2 separate regions of the Homo sapiens genome follow, and region 1 is linked to region 2. The links are contacts of gene promoters, found by promoter capture Hi-C in human tissues and cell types (Jung and others, 2019). All regions are on one chromosome and are shown on one strand. Each heading gives the region's core, a stretch centred on a gene start or on the middle of the fragment in contact. The rest is flanking DNA. Distances are from core to core; before and after follow the strand shown.

What was found. Contacts are between HindIII fragments. The study calls those that stand out against the background at their distance.
Region 1: a fragment that was not itself captured here is called in contact with the fragment with the promoter of IL9 in region 2 in 2 of the 25 tissues and cell types used here (IMR-90 fibroblasts and aorta).

What each region holds. Positions count from the first base shown.
Region 1 is chr5:136,262,114-136,269,405 of GRCh38, reverse strand. It overlaps TRPC7 (transient receptor potential cation channel subfamily C member 7), which reads left to right. Exons shown (of 12, transcript NM_020389.3): 5 at 2,970-3,186. The region is part of intron 1 of TRPC7-AS2 (TRPC7 antisense RNA 2); the gene reads right to left. Among named protein-coding and RNA genes, the nearest start is that of TRPC7-AS2, 39 kb to the right of the region's middle. The HindIII fragment of the contact is 5,146 bases long and covers 152-5,297 here.
Region 2 is chr5:135,892,491-135,900,200 of GRCh38, reverse strand. It overlaps IL9 (interleukin 9), which reads left to right and starts at 4,360. Exons shown (of 5, transcript NM_000590.2): 1 at 4,360-4,498; 2 at 4,611-4,646; 3 at 4,729-4,761; 4 at 6,050-6,181; 5 at 7,691-7,710. The coding sequence starts at 4,385. LOC124901074 (a long non-coding RNA gene) reads right to left here. Exons shown (of 3, transcript XR_007058947.1): 2 at 7,598-7,710; 3 at 4,053-4,503. The HindIII fragment of the contact is 9,945 bases long and covers 1-7,385 here.

The sequences.
Region 1 (7,292 bases), core at 1,475-3,974, 370 kb before region 2:
GGTGCTGACCAGTAAACGCAGGTGCCCACCCCAAAGGTCCATGAAGGCAATTTTCTTGGAGCCAATTCAGGGGCACTCTTCAGTTGCTTTGACATTCATATATTTCTCAGAGCCAAAGAATAGTGGCCAGGAAGCTTCGGGTGAGCCAGAGACTTCAGTTCTACAAGCTTTAATTTCCTGATGTGTTCTCAGCTCATAAGGTCCTAGTAATGACTGAACTGCTTTAGCCCACATTTTTTGGGCTTCTCAGTTCTGCACTCCAGGCACAGCAGGCTAAGGCCCACATCTTCATCTCTTTTTACACCTAACGCTGATACCTGACCCAGCTTTAACGATTCTGCAGCTAAGAGCTGCTAGCATATATTGGTTGACTTTTCTCCTTTCTTTTGGCTCATCTGATGGCCTTGCAAATGGAGGAAATTTTCCCCAAAGGTAATTTACTTCAAAAATTATCTGTGTGAGTCAAATAGGGAATTTTACAAATAAAGAAAAAGGAAACCATTGAAATGACTGGATCTCATTTGACCTTTATCAAAGTTTTACCAGATAAAAAGATGCATTCAAACCCAGAAGTATAGGAAAAGAATATCAATTCCCAACCTCACTTTTCCTCCCTGTGACCTAGATCAAGTGGGAACTGAGCCCAGGGTAACTTTCCATCAAATCACCAAAAGGCATTAACAGGACTTTTTATTATGGTTTATAGTAAATATAATAAGTTTTGCAGATTCATCTTCTTCTAGAAGATAACAGCTTGAAGGAGGTAACAAAACGAATATTAAATTCCTTAAACCAGGTCTTCTGGGGAAACTCAAAGCCAGCTTGGGTGCAGCTACATACAAATTCCAGGAATCAGGTGCCTCACCTGGGTGAGAAGTTGGAGAGGTATACCCCATATCCTCATCCAGATTATCACTGAAGATATTAGGTAGAGACCACAGATAAAGGATGGGGAAAATGGACCCCTTAAGAGCTGTGTCTATCTCAGAGTTCCCCAGCTTTTTCTAACATTCTTGAAACCTTGCTGGGATACACAAGACCTGGTATCCCTTGCCCTCTCTTCAGTCTCCCCTCTCCTCATCTATTCTCCTCCCTGCAGTCATTCTCCATCTCCCATCACCTCTCATCACCAGCTCAGTCAGGACACAGTGACAAGAAACAATGTGATGACTACCTAAGGCTGTCTCCTGGATATGCCAAAATATCCCAAGGTCCTGGTTGGGAAATGGGGCTCCAAGATGCTAACACCATTTGCTAAAATGTCAAAAACTTCAAACTAGCTATTTAATATCATATAAATAAAAAAGAGACATGGTTTAATTCAGTTTTTTACTGAATTTATATAAAAATGTTTTATTTGTCCTTACATTTTATCTCTATCTCTATCACCTTCAGTGCCCTATAGAATGCCACTGCATTCTATAACTAGCACATCTGTCTATTGCCAAAAATAATCTACAGTCCCTATTTTTGTAAGTAATAAACATTATACAGAAATGTTATTGTAAAATATTTGTGGGCCTATTGTCAGATAAACATCTCTTTATATTTCTGAAGTTATTCCTAGTGTCATATGACAATATGCAGATGAATTCTAACACAAGCAGGGACTCCTAATGCTTGGATATTTTTTAAAACCTAGATTTTTAAAAAAGATAAAAACTAATACTTTATTTTAATAAATGGGTTCTATAGCATCAGAATCATAATAATGTTATGCTAATAACTACAGTAATTAAAGTGGATGATTAACATACTGAAGCACATTAAAAGAACATTATCAAACCATCTGATTTATAAATGTTGTGCTGAACATATGTGACTAGGAAAATTCTACTTAGAGAAGGCCCTGTAATTGATCTTCTGTTGAACCAACAGTCTATCTCCTGGGTAACATTTCACTCTAGGACTCCTGAATGAGGCAGAATGTGAATGTCAAGTAATCAGTCACTGGTTATAATTGAATATCTACCTTGGAAAAGGAACTGAGCTTCAGAAAAGATGTTCCTCTTTGTTCTTGCCTTATTATTGTACCTGGATGAGGGGTAGGGCTTGGTGCTTAGATGAGGGCAATGAGCTGGAAGAGTCCCAACTGAGTTCATTAACAGGAGGTTGGCAAGTACTCAACGTGCAGCCCTCAATTCGATCCCAAAGATCCAAGTGGCCTTTGGATGGGGTGCCATGAGATAAAGAAGATGTGACTAGTATTTGCTCCTAATAGGGCATCTTTTGGACCATTTCCAGCTTGTGACATTTCAGGCACTAGGCCAAAAGGAAAACCTCAATGAATTTTAGAATACCATCATAGAGGCTATGTTCTATAAAGATGCTGCAATAAAATTCAAATTTTTTAAAGCAGGGAGAAAAAAAGTCCTCTATGTCTGGAAATGAAATAATCCTTGAGTTAAAAATGAAATCACAATATAATTTATAAAATATTTATAACAGAATGTCAATGAAAATGCTACAAGTGAAAATTTAGGAGAATACAGCTAAAGCAGTACCTAGTGAGAAATGTATAGCTTTAAATAAATGTATCAACATACAAGAAAGGTTGAGAACAAATACCCTTAGAATGAAGCCCAAGTGAGTAGATTAAACAAAAACCGAGCACTCAAAGTGCATTTTTTAAAATTGTGAACTTTATGCAGACATTATTTTTTCATATCCATGCAGTTGGAGGTATCAGTGCAATCAGATGTAGCATGATGATTATGTCAGGTGTGTTCTATCAATTTCTCTTAGCCCTCCCACTAAGTCTTCTAAATAGGAAAATATTGACCAAATAAGTTTGGTCAAGCAGCATCTCACATAATAGTTCAAGAAAAAATGTTGTATGGGTTCAGTTAGCAGTTTCTGTCCAAGATGAAGGATTCTCTGGTTAAACTTTGGTGAAAGCGATGTTATAAAGAAAGACCTACATCCACCTAGAGACAGTTTAACATGTCTTGAACACATTTTCTTTCCAGCTAGGACGAACCCTGAGGAGCCCTTTCATGAAGTTTGTAGCTCATGCAGTTTCTTTTACAATCTTCTTGGGATTATTAGTTGTGAATGCATCTGACCGATTTGAAGGTGTTAAAACCCTGCCAAACGAAACCTTCACAGACTACCCAAAACAAATCTTCAGAGTGAAAACCACACAGTTCTCCTGGACAGAAATGCTCATTATGAAGTGGGTCTTAGGTAAGCAAGTCACTCTATTTTTATTCTCTCCTTGCTAATTATAGTAGGACATTATTAAACTCTGATTTCTGAATTTCTCCCTCTCCTCTTCAGTGTACTCCTGATAGACAAAATGGTGAGTGGATGACCAACAAGAAAGTCAGAGTCAACTTCTGTCTTTAAGATACACAGACCTGTATACAAATTCCAATTTTGAAAGGAAATGTTTGGGGCGGCGGGGGACAGAAATTTTTTAAGTACATATATTGAACATTCATTATACATGTATTGAAAGTAGTTTCATGGGGAAACATATTATTTTGATCATTTAAATATAGTCTACTGGAAGCCTTAAGAAAACAAGTTCAGATTCTAAAAAAGGGCACAAAATTTCATAGCTTGAAAGATATTTCTGTTATCACTAAATATTCATATTCATAGTAGAATTGTGATAATAAATATACATCTAAAAATTCACGGGAGTAACATTTTCTTGTTATTTGTGTAAGTGGGTGTACTAAAAGGCTATGAAATTCCTCTTGTAGTGGTATTTCATGCTGCCACAGTCTGCCACTGGAGCTGCCAAGGAAATTGTTCCCAATTTCCTCATTGATTAACTAAGAAAGGCTGTCTTTTACCCAATTTATGAGAACCATTACTAGAAGGAATAATCAGAACAAAATAAAACTGGCAGTGACTAAAATTGAACGTGGCAAAATGTGTTATAGATTTTTCCGACACTGAAAACTACAAAACTGGTTGGTTAAAAAAAAATCAGTCTTAGTAGGAAAAAATTAAAAATTGCAAAAACTAAAATCAGTGACTCTGTTTATAAACCTTATCAATAAATTTTAAGATTTACATCAAAAATATGTCAATTTGATGGGAATATTTTCAGTAAAACAAGAAAAACAGAAGATAAAAAAGACAAAAAATTAGTACAGTATCAAGACTTGATCAAATAATTCAATTGGCTTAATGGTATTCACCTTAGATTTTGCTTTCTGAACAAAAATTTTAATATTGGTATAATTTTCATTATGTTTATATTCACAAACAATGAGTCAAAATGTATTCGGGTCAAATCAACAAAATCACAGTAGAACAAATACTTGAAAAGGTAACCTAACATATGGCCTGTGCTAATTAAATAATATAGCCCAAGAGTGCTACAAGAGTAGAACCACTAGAGAACATCCTATGGATGCCTAAGCTGAGACCAATTGGAAAAATGCTCTCTAAATTCGATCTCTAAATAGGCAAAGGAAGATGAGATGAATGGTTTTATCCAAAGGGTATAGGAAGGACAACCCACCAAGCTTTCCAGGGACTTTATAAAACCAGCAACCCGGCCAGGCACAGTGGCTCACACCTGTAAACCCAGCACTTTGGAAGGCCGAAGGGGGTGGATCACGAGGTCAGGAATTTGAGACCAGCCTGATCAACATGGTGAAACCCTGCCTCTACTAAAAATACAAAATTTAGCCAGGCATGGTGGTGTGCGCCTGTAATCCCAGCTACTCAGGAGGCTAAGGCAGGAGTATCGCTTGAACCCAGAAGGCAGAGGTTTCGATGAGCGGACATTGCACCACCGCACTCCAGCCTGGGCGACAGAGCAAGACTCTGTCTAAAAAAGAAAACAAACAAAAAAAAAAACAGCAACCCTGTGACCAAAGGCTCATTTAGTACAGTCACTGGCACTAAAGTTGGGAAGGGACATTAAAGTTTGTTACAGAGTTCTGTGGTCTTAACTTCACAATTCAGAATCTATCCCAGTTCTCCCTAGTACATACGCCATTGTTTAACTAAATTGAGCATTTTAACACTAGGCACTTAGAAAAAACTCACATGTTGGATTTATGAATAAAATTTAAAGTATTTACAGCACCAATCACCCACCTACCCCATTTTCCCACTTGGACCCCAGGTAGAAGACTCTGGTAAATGCAACCATACTTTCCCTTGAACAGGTGTGGCTGCTATTAATGGAACCTCTTGAATGAGGACTTCCTCCTGAGTCCTCATATTTCTCTTCCTGGGTGTCAGAGCATTATTCCAATATAAGGGATGTGTCTCTAGCTATAGGAACCCCAACTTGTATAGCTTAGTCCCTGCTTCTGACCCTCAGAGCAGAATTCAAGACTGTTAAATCAGAAGTGTTGTAGAGGGAAGGACTTATTTCTCATTGGCCTCTTTCCAGAAGGAAAATTCTAATTACTTTTTCTTTCCTAGAGAATGTTTTCAAATTTTTTATCACAAATAATTTTAAGGAAATGCAAAAAATCAAGAGAAGAGCATAATGAATTCCATGGACCTATCTCTCATGTTCAACAGTTAGCAATTCATGGCCAATCTTTGCTCCATCTATACTTCCCCCACCTCCCTTCTCTCTAACCTTGAATTATTTTGAAACAAACCCCAGCTATTGTAAATTTATTCTGTAAATATTTTTGTGTATATCACTGAAATGTAACATGTCTTTTTCCTTTTATCAGTCTTTCTTCTTTCTGTGCTTCACAGTCGCTGATATTTTTTCCTGTGGTTTTTGTGATTTTAATTTCAATCAGTGAGTTTTTCATTTCAGATATTATATTATTCAATTCTTAAAATCTTATTTGGTTCTCTTTTATATCTCCCATTTCCTTCCTCATCATTTTTGTGTTTTCCTTTAAATCCTTGGACACATTTACAATAACTGTTTTGAAGTCTTGACTCCTAACTCCATCATTTCTGTCATTCCTGGGTTGATTTCTATTGACTAATCTTGCTTCTAATTATGGATGACCTTTTCCTGCATCTTGAAATGTTTGGTAATTTTTTGGTTGAATGATGGGCACTCCGCATGTTACAGTTGTGAGCCTCTGGATTTTGTCTTCCTTCAAAGTTTTTGGCATTATTCTGACAGGCTGTTATGCCACTTGTGATGAGTTTGATCCATGTAAAGCTTTCTCACAGTGGATCTGGAGAAGGCTTACTATAAAGATTGTTTATCTTTGTACTATAGAGACACACTTCTGGGGTCTCTATTGAATGCCCTGGGTAATCAACAAGGAGTGTCAAATCTGGATGATCAGAGCTCGAATATCTCCCCACTCTGGGTAAGCTCTGAAAACGGTTCGGCTTTTAGCTCCTTGGCAGTTGTTTGTGGAGTTTCACTCTATGAATTCATGACTTGGTATTCAACAAACATTCAAAAGAACCCCTATTTAAATTTCTGGTGTCTTTTGTTTGTTTAGTTTTGGTTTGTTTGTTTCTTTGCTTGCTTGTTTTTGCATAGTACCCTTCTCTCTGGAGCTCTGCTGCACAACATCTAATCACCTCAGCCTTCCAAAACCCCATTCTGTCTCTTCAACTCAGTGAGACTGCTGCTATGCTTCTGGGATCCCTCTCCGTGCACTACAGACTGGAATGTGCCTCCAGAAAGCAAGCCATGGTGGTCATATGGTTTGCCTCACTTGTTTCCCTTTACTTAGGGATCACAGTCCCGTGCTGCCTATTTCCAATGCCTAAAAATATTATTTATGTTTGCTTTTGTTTTGTTGTTTTTTAACCTGTTTGTTACTCCATCCTGGCTAGTAACAGAAATCAGAACACTTTTCCTAAAAGAGAATCAGAAAAACATTATCAAGCCTAAAAGAAAATTAATAATTTCTTAGTATCTTCAAATATCCAGCCAATAACCAAATTTCTTTCATTGAGAGACGTAAGTTGAATAAATATCCACAAGACTCGCTTCCCCTCCTCCTTCAAATCACTGTTCAAATTTCACCTTATCAGAGTAGTTGAGCAGGTAAGAGCATGCCCTCTCATCCCTCTACTCTGATAAGGTGAAAAGCATTCCAGGCAGAAGGAACAGTATGTGTTAAAGCTGGATTCAGGAGCAAGCTGGACGTGTTCAAGGAACAGCAAAGAGACTAGTGTGGCTGATGTAGATGAATGAGGAGAAGAGAAATAGAGATGAAGTCAGAGGAGGCAGCCTTTGGAGAGTTTTCAGCACAAAAGTGACATCATACGACTTCAGTTTTTAAAGGATCACTGACTGCTATGTAGAGAATAGATGATTGTGGGATACGAGCAGAAGTAAGGAGACCAATTAGGAGGCCACTGCAGTAATTTAGACAGGAAGG
Region 2 (7,710 bases), core at 3,111-5,610:
GTATAGACTATGCCCTGGGAATAGTGATGAGCAAGAGAGTCCGTTGTAGTGTCCATTGTCATGGAACTGACATTCTCCTGGGAGAACCAGACACTGAAAGAGGCACAGGCAGATGGCAGTGATTGCTATGGTCAGAGAAGGTCTTGCTGAGGAGGTTGTAGTTGAGCTGAAAACTAAATGATGAGAACAGGTCACGTAGGGAGGAGCTGAGGAAGGAGCCAGCAGGCCAAGCTTAGCAAGGGTAAAGGCCTGGAGGATGGAAATGAAAAGAAACTGATGTGACGGGAGGGTAGTAATGAGGGGGTATCAAAGAGCGAGGCACCTGGACCAGACCAGACCACATTTCCAAACAGAAACATGCCTCATTCCTGAGAGTATATCCCAAATGGAGCACTCCTCTCTTTCATGAGGAAGGGCTGGGTGAAGGCTTACATTCCTTTCTCTAAGTGAGTGAGCACTGGGGGTGCATTGGTGCATGGAAAGGGTAAGTAACCTGCCCAAGGAACACCAGTGGCCATGGATCACTTGACCCTGAGCCAGCTCCTGAGGGTAGCAGGGAAGGTGGGTGACCCAAGGCCTGCTGGTCAAGCCAAGACTTAACTTGTTAATTCATTCACTTTTCTCCTAACTTCAAAATGTGGGACTTTTCCTAGTAAACCAGAGCCTGCCTGAGATATCTTTGCTGCAGCTACCGGGTTTCATTGAGAGAAGATCTTTGGTTCATTGGACCAGCGAGCTCACTCCACAAAAAGCCTCAGGAAATGGCAGGCCCCCAACACTTCGGATAATCTGGCAGTCTGTGGCCCAGGTCCCCTGCTCCCTTCCCTCTGTACAGATACCTGACCTAAATAACCAGATGGGGAAAGGGAGAAGAGACACCTGAGCAACCAACCCCTAGCTCTACCCTTCCCAGGACTGGAGGATAATAGTTGATGTCTTCAGAAAATGTGGGGTGGGGTGTGGGAACTCAGCCAGGGGGTGGCCAACTTTTCCTGTAAAGGGGCCAGATAATAAATGTTTAGGCTTTACGGGCTACATACGGTCTCTATCACACATGCTTGTTTTTATTTGTTAATTATTTCTTTATAAACTTTAACCCTCTGAACCCTTAAAAAGGTAAACACTGTTCTTAGCTTGTAGACCTTACCTTCAACCTGAAAAGTGGATTACAGTTTGTTGACCGCTAACCTCGGCTGCTTTGCCCTAACAAACTTCAAACCGGATGCCACTTAAACCAAGTTAGGGATGGAGCAGCTGTTTCTTTTAATCTCTATGGGAGTACCCTGAGGGGAGCCTTCACTGACAACTGCATCCCTAGATCCCCATTCCCACTTTCCACATCACCATCCTCACTTACGAGTGAGTGAGAACTGACAACTGCAACTGCATCCCTAGATCCCCATTCCCACTTTCCACATCACCATCCTCACTTACGGTCAGGAAATGGAAGCTGGGAGAGGCCAAGCAATCCCCCAAGGCCATGGAGCTAGCAAGTGATAGAGGCAGGACTTGAACTCAGGCATTCTGATTCTAGAGTCACCGGTCTTAACCACTGCACTGTACTATCCCCTGCTAGAAACTAGAGCTGTGGCTTTCTCTTCTTGGGCAAAGCCCCCATCTGTACAACAGGAGGGGTGGGGTGGTGTTTTCCTCAATATGAAAGGCATACCCGATGGCAGGTGAAATGATTTCCACGGTTCACACAGAGAGCATCAGATAATATTGATTCACAGAATGAAAAGATGATTGCCTTTTCACATCTCTCTCAAGTCTTCCAATAATGTCAGGGAAGGAGGTTTAGTCTGATGGTAATGTATCTTTAAAATCTCTCCAAAGCATGCTAATTTTCTTTTCTTTTCTTTTTAAACAAGAACAGGTTTTATAACTCAGGATCCTCAGTAGGCAGTGATAGCTAGCTAGAATTTTAGTATCACTGTTGTACTATTATTATTACTTCTCTTGTTAGTCTCATGGTTTTATTTTTTATTGCCTTTCTGAATATTTGCTATTTATGAAAAATGTTAGTGTTGCCATTGCTGTAATTCTCTTGTCCATTTCTTCATAGTTATAATATTGCTGCTGAAGCTCCTGCCATCACACCCAAATTGGAATTAAGGGGAAAGACAGGGTTCAGCCACTTTTGTCTCCTATTACCAGGAAAGCAAAATAATTTTACATACTTTGCATTGATCGAAACATGCTGCATGGCTACATGTAGCAGCAAAAGAGGCTGAAAATGTGGGTGTTTGGCTGGATACATTGGTACCCCAAACTAATCAGAATTCTACCATCAAGAAAAAGGCATACATCCAGTGCTTTGTAACAAAAGTGTTTGCCACAGGCTGGGAATCCTTTGAGTTTTCTCTTCAGTGTCTGCAAAGAGCAGGGATGGAAGTCAGAGATGTGGGATGGCTTAAGGGAATTTAGCAAAACACCTGTTTCTCTTTACCTTGTTTACCACCAAGACACTCCCTTCCCCATAGTGCAGTGGAACACTGACGAGCCATCATCACTCCTAAGAAACAATACAAAATGAAAAAAAACAGTATTGCCATACTCTTACAGTGGAGGCGAGGAAATCTTATGAGTTTGTCCCCACTGGCTATTATAGTTCAGAGTGCTAAGCTAAAGAACCCCTCACCTTTTCAATCTACTGTGTAGAAGCTATATTTACTTACCTGCACATACCTCCAAATATGTATCCTAGAAATCAGATTTGAAATCTTATAAATCCCAGAAGTAGGAAGTTCGTATTTCAAGAACTACTTTTCAAATTAGTGTTTTAATTCAACAAGCATTTAGTGAGTGCCCACAGTTCCCCAGGCACCTCCTTAAGTGCTGAGAATATAGGGGTGAACTGGACCCATAAAGCCCTGGAGTATATATCCTGGTGGGAGAGGCAGATAAAAGATCTGCAGAAAAACAGGAGTTCAGGAGGATTAAGAGCTGAAATCAGGAGGCAGACTTCTGGGCTTGAATACAAATTCTGCGGCTTCCTGGCTTTGTGGTTTTGGGCAAATTACCTGCCTCTCTATGCCTCAGTTTCTCCATCTGTAAGATAATAAGAATAATTATAGTACTTCATAGAGTTACACTGAGATTGCTTTTTTGACTCATAGTGATTAAACACAGCCATACTGAAGGGCCAGGAAGCTAAGATGTAGACAGTGTTTTAAAGGGTAAAAAATGGTGATGACAAATTACTCCCCACCTCATTTGGCAGCCGAGTGTATTACATGGCTTAATGCATGTAAAGTACTTAGAAATGTTGCTAGTATGGTCAGGCCCAGTGGCTCATGCCTGTAATCCCAGAACTTTGGGAGGCCAAGGCGGGCGGATCACGAGGTCAGGAGTTCAAGACCAGCCTGGCCAACATAGTGAAACCTCGTCTCTACTAAAAATACAAAAAATTAGCCGGGCGTGGTGGAGGGTGCCTGTAATTCTAGCTACTCGGGAGGCTGAGGCAGGAGAATCGCTTGAACCCGGGAGGCAGAGGTTGCAGCGAACCTGGATTGTGCCACCGCACTCCAGCCTGGTGACAGAGGGAGACTCTGTCTCAAAAAAAAAAAAAAAAAAAAAAGAAATGTTACTAGTATGTAGTAAGTTCTCAGTAAATGTTAGCTACTATACTCTTTCAAGTGCTGGGTTTTTACTTGATGTCATACAGTGTTATATAAGATCTCCAAAGATACTGAGGAGTCCTCAAGGCCAATTTTAACAAGCATGGTTGCCGCATTCTTGTGCTTATAGTTGAACATTTCTTCTTTCAGACACTTGCACAAAGGGATACTTCTAAGATGCATTTGCATTAGGTGGCAAACTTCATCCTGGGTATGAAAAACATTGAGATTTGGGAATAAAGCATAGTAAGACTGAGGTTGCAATTACTAAAGGAAAACCCCAACAGAGATAAGTGAAGTTCTGCAATATCATGCACCCTCCCCCAACCCGCTCTGTCTCCCCAGGCCCCCCTTCGTTAGAACACCCATGACTGGCTATATTATATCAGCATTTCCCATAATGTAAAAAGGGAAAATACAGACCTGGGCGTTCATGGAAAGTATTCTAACTCTCACAACCAGAATCCCTGTCTTTGAATTTTTTTTCTTGGTTTTTAGATCTTTAACTTTTCCTTCAGCATTTCAGTACTCAACTTTTTGAAAATCATCTTTTCTGAGGAATGATATTTCCTGGCACAGCATCATCTCTGTCAAGTGACTCAGTTTGATTTTTTTGTTTGTTAGTATAAAGTGGCCCCAACTTACAGAGAAAAAGTGGGCTCTTGGTATCAGTTTGATGTCAGGGTTTTTCCGTGTTTGAGAGGGAGCTTTAAATACCACTCGATTTGAAGGTGTCTGCAAGCGAGCTCCAGTCCGCTGTCAAGATGCTTCTGGCCATGGTCCTTACCTCTGCCCTGCTCCTGTGCTCCGTGGCAGGCCAGGGGTGTCCAACCTTGGCGGGGATCCTGGACATCAACTTCCTCATCAACAAGATGCAGGTAGGCTGCAGGGGGAGCCCATGGGAAAGACAGCTACTGACAAAGTGAAATATGTATGAGGATGAAAAAACTCGGGGCTGACTAAAGGTTCTTATCTCTCTATCTACTTTAGGAAGATCCAGCTTCCAAGTGCCACTGCAGTGCTAATGTGAGTGAATGCTCTTTAAGAACTTTCCAAATTAATTTTAATTTTCACATCTGGAATCTTCACTCTGAAATTTCCCTTGCAGGTGACCAGTTGTCTCTGTTTGGGCATTCCCTCTGTAAGTATAGTGAAATAACATAATGTTGACCTTGGATTTTTTTGGTTTGTTTTTAAGTAAAAATAAGTTGCTTTATTTAATATTTAATGTTATACATTGTTGCTTAATTTAATTGTTACAGATTAGTATTCCCTGTTAAAACCACATTGTTACAAATTATTCCCTTTTAAAACTACGATCTTGAAATCCTATATTATGAACATTTCTTTGTATTTAATTAACTTTATGCCTCTTGAGAAGTTTGAACACTTTTCAACATTAAAAAAAGAATCCTGAATATCTTTTTAGATAGGTGGCCATGTGCACAATTAAATAAAACTGGAACTAAGGATATAATAATTGCTGTAGCTCATATCATATTGCTTTCTAACTCATTTACTGATAACTCTAGAGTTGTGAAACAATGTAAATAAAATGACAACTCCTTATCTTTCATCTGTCATGAATGATCTATGCGCTATACCTCCCCCTCCCTGCCTCCTCCCTTCCTCCCCACCACCCTGTTGTCTGTCTAGCTGATTAGAGTGACTGTTGGTTTGAATGCTGCCCTCTGGGCAGGTAGAGGATCTGAGGTTGTGAGTGGAAGGAGGGCTTCCAGAGGGCCACTGCCCACTACGGCAGGAAGGATGGGTGGCAGGAAAGTTCTGATTCCTAATTCAAACTCCTGGTTAGGGTGAGGAGGAGGCACTTCTCCAAGGTGCAGTGCTTTATTCTTTCTCATGCAAGGCCTGGGAGAATCTGAAGAATCTGAGCTTCTTGCCCTGGCTAGGGTAAGACATCGCACCCATCGCGGTCCATCCATTAGATGAGAAGAGGATAGAGTGCCTTCTGGGCAGGAACCAGGCAGACAGCACAGCCCCTGTCCCTTGGAGTACCGTCCATGTTTTTAGCTGCTGCTGAAATACCAGCTGCATTCAATTGTCACATCCCATTAGCTGGTGTGAAAAGGCTTTTCCTCACTCTGCACTTTCAGACTTACAAGCCTTGAAGCCGGGAAGCACCCGTTGAAAAGAACATTCAGAGCCGACTATTTCAGGGCCCAGAGCCCTCATGTTTCCTGGATGTAACATACAGGAAGTCTCCTCCAGGGGATGTCACTGTGGAAAAATGGCATCCCCTTTAAATACGGGAGATCACTTCCTACATTGGCAAGGGACCTGTCTAAAAATAATGCAAGTTTGAGTAATGGTGATTAAATAAAAATCATCTCTATTATATTGCTCTTTGTGATATATTTCCAAAGCTGTCCTCAGAATATTTCTTTGAATAAATCCTTACTATTTACCAGGACAACTGCACCAGACCATGCTTCAGTGAGAGACTGTCTCAGATGACCAATACCACCATGCAAACAAGATACCCACTGATTTTCAGTCGGGTGAAAAAATCAGTTGAAGTACTAAAGAACAACAAGTGTCCAGTAAGTTTGTTTTCATATGTGATATGTTCCTGTTGGTGATTTCTATGTGAATGGTGATGCCAACCCTGTTTGAACACAAAAGGATGATAAAGTTGGAATTGGTAGTTCAAGGTTGATAAAAGACATCTAAGAATTTTAATCAGAAGTAATATAATTAAAGTGAGATCCACTGAAACAATAGAATTAAAGTGAGATAGATCATTGTTCCTGACGAGGCCATTTACTTCTCTCTACTATGGAATAATGAAAGAATCCTTTCTGAGTGTAATTAGAAGCTACAATCTAGAGAATCAGGGATGTAGCTCACATAATACTAAATTATCCTAGAGATTCAATGTACTAACTGAATGGATGTTGTTAACAGGGATTTTTTTTTCCTGTTGGTTAAGGAGGTTTTGTTTTGTTTTGGAGACAGAGTCTTGCTCTGTTGCCCAGGCTGGAGTGCAGTGGTGCCATCTGAGCTCACTGCAGCCTCTGCCTCCCGGGTTCAAGTGATTATCCTGCCTCAGCCTCCCGAGTAGCTGGCATTACAGGTGCGTGCCACCATGCCTGGCTAATTTTTGTATTTTTAATAGAGATGGGGTTTCACCATGTTGGCCAGGTTGCTCTCCAACTCCTGAACTCAAGTGATTTGCCCGCCTTGACCTCCCAAAGTGCTGGGATGACAGGTGTGAGCCACCATGCCTGGCCTGCATTAAGGAGGTATTTAAAGGGCAATGCACCCAGGTCAAGGTGGAAGCTTGCTACTCATCCTGAATGCCCATCCACACATTCTTTTCTTCAGCATATACCCTAGTCCCTGACAGCAGACTGGGATGGCAAGTTGGGTAGAGGTGACCTCCCTCTGTTTTTTGGGTATTAGCATCTCCACACAAGATCCTAGAAGGCTGAAAGCCCTGAGCTCAGCTGTTTAGCTGCATGCGTTTCTACCATCAATGGCATCTAGTTCTAAGTGCTTAATATATGCTGTCTCACTGAATAAATACATACCTTAGGGACAATTATTCAATTTATTACTCTCAGTGAGGTTAACTAATTTGCCTAAGGCTGCATATTTGATAAGTGGCAGAGCTGAGATTTGAACTCAGGCCTATATGACCTCAGAGCCCCACTCTTAGCCATTGTACTGTCAAATGACCTTGGAAAGACAACCTAAAAGGATAATGATACAATTTTAGGCCTCAAAGAGTCCCCAGAAAAGGCTTTCTCTAATGCAGAGATTTAGGGCCACTTAATAGGGGTGTGTGTGTGTGTGTGTGTGTGTGTGTGTGTGTGTGTGTGTGTGTAAAGACCCCTGAAATCCAATTTGAGGTCAACCACCTATGCTGTCTTTACACCACATGAGCTAGCCTGGACCTGCCCACCTATTTGCTCTGTGTCTCAAGCCACTTCCCTTCCCATCCCCACAATCCTCACCACCGACTCTGGCTCTTGGCAGGTAGGCTTCTGGGGCTGCTTGGCTCTACATCATTTGAGTCACTCTGTCCTTATCAACTTTCATCCCCACAGTATTTTTCCTGTGAACAGCC